2 separate regions of the Homo sapiens genome follow, and region 2 is linked to region 1. The links are contacts of gene promoters, found by promoter capture Hi-C in human tissues and cell types (Jung and others, 2019). All regions are on one chromosome and are shown on one strand. The core of a region is centred on a gene start or on the middle of the fragment in contact, and the rest is flanking DNA. Distances in the headings are between cores, read along the strand shown.

What was found. Contacts are between HindIII fragments. The study calls those that stand out against the background at their distance.
Region 2: a fragment that was not itself captured here is called in contact with the fragment with the promoter of TEAD4 in region 1 in 1 of the 25 tissues and cell types used here (dorsolateral prefrontal cortex).

What each region holds. Positions count from the first base shown.
Region 1 is chr12:2,958,056-2,960,708 of GRCh38, reverse strand. It overlaps TEAD4 (TEA domain transcription factor 4), which reads right to left and starts at 1,312. Exons shown (of 13, transcript NM_003213.4): 1 at 1,228-1,312; 2 at 669-761. LOC124902859 (a long non-coding RNA gene) reads left to right here and starts at 661. Exons shown (of 2, transcript XR_007063159.1): 1 at 661-968; 2 at 2,484-2,653. RefSeq lists an enhancer at 407-1,142. The HindIII fragment of the contact is 29,957 bases long and covers 1-2,653 here.
Region 2 is chr12:1,957,251-1,959,903 of GRCh38, reverse strand. The region is part of intron 5 of DCP1B (decapping mRNA 1B); the gene reads left to right. Among named protein-coding and RNA genes, the nearest start is that of LINC00940, 22 kb to the right of the region's middle. The HindIII fragment of the contact is 3,913 bases long and covers 1-2,653 here.

The sequences.
Region 1 (2,653 bases), core at 63-2,562:
AGACATATACACACACTCTGTCACTCACGTTCAACACAAACAAATACGCCCACTGGAAGCCAAGGTGAGCCACACGTGAACAGACATCACCCACACAGAGACTCAAAGCGAGGGGGACTCGCAGTCAGGTGTCACACAGACTCAGCACAGACGCAGTCAGTCCGCGGGGCCTCAAGTGCCTCAGCACAACGGGGGAAATGTTCACTTTGGGGTTTGAAAGTTCTGCTCCCTGGATCGATCCACTAGTCCCCATCAGGAAACACAGCAGCTTCCCAAGCCCTGAGGTGTAGGACCTTTTGCAGGGGTCCCCCGACTTTCGCATCGCCTTTGCACTTAAAACAGGCAGTCCGCTTACCTCCAGGTCTCTCCCTTCCAGGCTCGAAAAGGGCCCAGCAGAAAAGAGGCATGGGTGCTGGGTCTCTTCTGTTGCCGATGCTCTCGGTTCTGCCTCTCCGGTCCTTTCCACACCGGCCTCCCTTTCCCCCAAAGTCCCGAGTGTCCACCCCCCTTACCCGCCCCTGGAGCCGCTTCGCCTCCAGCAGCCTCAGTCGCGCCGCCTCCACGTGCCTCGCTCTTCCCAGTCTCGTCCCGGGAGGGAGCTCCGCACGCACCGCGCAGACTCCTGCCCTCCGGCAAAGTCCTACCAAGTCCCCGCGCCCCAGCCTTACCGGTCCCAGGGTGCGGGAAGGTGGGATGGGTGCGCTAAGCCAGTTCCAAGGAGTCCGCCCCGAGCGCCAACTCTTCCGGCCGCGGCGATCGTTCTGCGGGGACGACAGGGCGTCAGCGCGCAGAGCCGGGCTCCGGCCGGGGCCGACGGGCGGCGCAGTGAAGGCGGGGCCGCGGGGCCAAGCCCACCCCGCGCCGACCGGCCCCGGTGCGCCCAGCGGAGCGGAGCGGAGCGCGCGGAGGGAGGAGTTTTCCCAGAATGGGACTGACGGGAAAACACGGGGATCCCTATTCCTGGAGGAGTGAGTCAACCGGGAGCGAGGAGGGGAGCGCGGGGCGGACAGGAGGGAAGCGGGAGAGGGGCAGCGAGCAGCGCCGGAGCGCGGAGGGAAGCCAGAGGTCGGGACGGAGCGCGTCGGAGCGCAGAGGTCCAAGGCGGGAACGCGGGCGGCGGAAAGAAAAGAGCAGCCGAGCACGCGGCGCGAGCGGTCGGCTGCGGCGGCGTGGGGCGCGCGGCCCGTGAGGGCGCCGGCGGGTGCGGCGGGCGCGGGCGCCTCTCACCTGGCGGGACGCGGCGGCGCCGGAGCTGCGGCCCTCCCGCCCCCTGGCCTCGAGTGTGCGAGGAGGACGCTGGAATGCGCGGAATGAGGGCTGGAATGAGATGCGCGCCGCGGCGGGAGGGAGGGAGCCGGAGGGAGTGGCGGCGGGGCCACCGGCACCTCGGGGAGGAGACTGCGCCGCGCGCGGGCGGGCGAGGGGCCGGGCCGCCGGGGCGGGGCGGGGCCGGGCCGGGCCGGGGCGGGCGGCGGGGGAGGGGGCCGAGGGACGGCGGGGACCCCTCCACCCGGGCCTCGGCTGCGGCCCCCACGCCCACTAGCCCTTCGATCTCTCCGCTCCGACTGTTTGGCTGCTCGTTGCGCGCCCCGCGCCCTCCCCTCCTGGCGGGGTCCCGACTCCCTTTCCCAGGAGCCGAGAGCCTTCCTCTTCGCCGGGGTGGGGCTGTCCCGGGGGCGGGGGGGTGGACGGGGCCCAGACTCCCGCCCCGCCACCCGGCGTCCCTCCGCACGAGTCCCTGGGAGGCCGGGGAAGGGGCGGGCTCCCGGCGCGCAGGAAGGGCTGCTCCCTTCCTGCGGCTCCCACCAAAGGACACTTGCTCCGGGGAACCAGGAAGCAGGAACTCGCGGGCTCCATTCCCAGATCCGCTGCCAGTGCCCCCTCGCTTGCCCTCCCCGGCTTTAGCTCTTTCCGTTTTTCTCTCCTGCCCCTTGGGCATCTGTAAAACCGCCACTACGAGTAAACCACATGGGAGAAAGGGCACTCGGTTTGAAGTCCATGTGGCATGCCATGGGACGCCTTCTGGGCTCAGTGACTCAATGAATATTCATCTAAGATGTGTGATGAGTCCAGATACTGTGAAGATCAGGATCAGCCGTCAGCACCTGCCCTCAAAGAGCTCAGAGTTTAGCTGGGGAGGCCTCGGTGTATACTGCCATCGGTGAGAGTCTGGACTTCAGACACACATGCCCAGGAGTCTCTTATTGGGGCAGGAGGTGCTGGAAACACGCTGGGCTCCTTGTTTGGAGACGCTTAGGACAAACGGGCTTAAAGCAGTGTGCTGGCAGGTAGCGCCATCATCTACCTGGCCAGGAGACTGAAACCAAAGGACTTTTGGCTTTTTCCAAAAATCAAATCCAACCTTTTCTGGGGCATTATCACTTAGCCTTGTGTTGGGTGGTTGTCTAGATCTTATCTCCCTTGCCAAACAGAAACTTCCTTGAAGACAGAGTAATGTCTGATTTATCTTATCTTTCACACAGATCCAGCCTGGTGCCTGGGATAGGGAAGTGCATGATAAATGCTGCATAAATGAAAAACAATTGCTACCGTGGAAGATATTGAAAGGAAAGTGCTATCGATGCCAAAGTTGTTTCCAAGAGAGGTATTCCAAAAGTGTTTCAAGCAATGACTGAGCTAAGCATCCAGTCCT
Region 2 (2,653 bases), core at 99-2,598, 1.0 Mb after region 1:
ATGGCAAGCTCTACCTCCTGGGTTCACGCCATTCTCCTACCTCAGCCTCCCAAGTAGCTGGGACTACAGGCGCCCTCCACCATGCCCGGATAATTTTTTTGTATTTTTAGTAGAGACGGGGTTTCACCGTGTTAGCCAGGATGGTCTCGATCTGCTGACCTCGTGATCCGCCCGCCTCAGCCTCACAAAGTGCTGGGATTACAGGCGTGAGCCACTGCACCTGGCCCAACATGCTATTTTCCATAATAGCTATGCTAACTAATATTCCCACCAACAGTATACAAGGATTTCCTTTTCTGTACATCCTTGCCACCACTTATGTTTTGCCTTTTTGATGGTAGACATTCTACCAGGTTTGAGGTGATATTTCACTGTGGTTTTAATTTGCATTTCCCTGATGATTAGCGATGTCGAGCATTTTTCACATACCTATTGGCCACATGTATGTCTTCTTTTGAAAAATGTCCACTCAGGCCCTTTGTCTATATTTTGATCAGAACATTTGTTTTCTTTTCTTACTGTTGAGTTGTTTGAGTTCCTTATCTACTTTGGACATGAATCTCTTATCGTATGTATGTTGTGCAGGTATCTTCCTCCACTCCATAGGTCATCTCTTCACTCTGCTGTTTCCTTTGCTATGCAACAGCCTTGGGTTGGATGTAATCCTGTGTGTCTCTTGCTTTTGTTGCCTGTCCTTAGGGTCACATCGAAAAAGCCATTGCCCAGAGCAACGTTAGGGAGCTTTTCCCCTGTTTCCTTCCAGGAGGTTTATAGAAAAAGTCATTGCCCAGAGCGACGTTGGGGAGCTTTCCCCCTGTTTCCTTCCAGGAGGTTTATAGAAAAAGTCATTGCCCAGAGCAACGTTGGGGAGCTTTCCCCCTGTTTCCTTCCAGGAGGTTTATAGAAAAAGTCATTGCCCAGAGCGACGTTGGGGAGCTTTTCCCCTGTTTCCTTCCAGGAGGTTTATAGAAAAAGTCATTGCCCAGAGCGACGTTGGGGAGCTTTTCCCCTGTTTCCTTCCAGGAGGTTTATAGAAAAAGTCATTGCCCAAAGCGACGTTGGGGAGCTTTTCCCCTGTTTCCTTCCAGGAGGTTTATAGAAAAAGCCATTGCCCAGAGCGACGTTGGGGAGCTTTTCCCCTGTTTCCTTCCGGGAGGTTTATAGAAAAAGTCATTGCCCAGAGCGACGTTGGGGAGCTTTTCCCCTGTCTCCTTCCGGGAGGTTTATGGAAAAAGTCATTGCCCAGAGCGACGTTGGGGAGCTTTTCCCCTGTCTCCTTCCAGGAGGTTTATAGAAAAAGTCATTGCCCAGAGCGACGTTAGGGAGCTTTTCCCCTGTCTTCTTCCAGGAGGTTTATAGAAAAAGCCATTGCGCAGAGCGACGTTAGGGAGCTTTTCCCCTGTCTTCTTCCAGGAGGTTTATAGAAAAAGCCATTGCCCAGAGCGACGTTAGGGAGCTTTTCCCCTGTTTCCTTCCAGGAGGTTTATAGAAAAAGCCATTGCCCAGAGCGACGTTAGGGAGCTTTTCCCCTGTCTTCTTCCAGGAGGTTTATAGAAGAAGCCATTGCCCAGAGCGACGTTAGGGAGCTTTTCCCCTGTCTTCTTCCAGTAGGTTTATAGAAAAAGTCATTACCCAGAGCAACGTTGGGGAGCTTTTCCCCTGTTTCCTTCCAGGAGGTTTATAGAAAAAGTCATTGCCCAGAGCAACGTTAGGGAGCTTTTCCCCTGTTTCCTTCCAGGAGGTTTATAGAAAAAGTCATTGCCCAGAGCGACGTTAGGGAGCTTTTCCCCTGTTTCCTTCCAGGAGGTTCATAGAAAAAGCCATTGCCCAGAGCGACGTTGGGGAGCTTTTCCCCTGTTTCCTTCCAGGAGGTTTATAGAAAAAGTCTGCCCAGAGCGACGTTGGGGAGCTTTTCCCCTGTTTCCTTCCAGGAGGTTTATAGTCTCAGGCCTTACGCTTAAGTCTCTCTAGAATTCTTAAATTTGTGAACATCCCAAGAAGTGGAAGTAGGAAAAATGTTGAGCTATCAGTATATATGATATGGGTAAAGTGAAGTCTGTCTAGTTTACAGGAGGTTAATAAAATAATTTGAAAACTTATTTTGGCTGAAATTTTGTGCATTCTCTTTTGAGAAATAACTTTCTGTGAATCTGCTTTAAAGTAGAAAAGATGTTAATTTGCATTTCATCTCTTTTTATCTCCGCCCTATTCAATTTCTAGTTGAGATGCAAGTGAACAGTAAAATAACCAAATTTTAGTAAGAACAAGAGGCAGGACCAGAAATGATCTACAGGCTGCATAGTTAAGCTTGGAGTATTCAGAAGTGGACTATTTGTGTTTTGTGGTTTAAGACAAGAATTATTGGCTCTTTTCTGGATATAGCTGTGAGTTATTTATGAAATTATAGAAATTTTTTTGTTGAATGATAGAATTCAAAAGAATATAAAAAGAAAAATCACCAATAATCCTATAAACTGAAGATAGAAACTTTTTATACTTTTATTGTATTTTGTTTCAAACATCTCTCTTGGCATAAATACATATGTTTATGTATGTATGTGTTTGTGTGTGATTAAAACTGGATTATATGACATACTTTTTGAGGTTTTATTGTATTTTAACCTCAGCATCCAACAGAGGAAGTTTTTGAAGT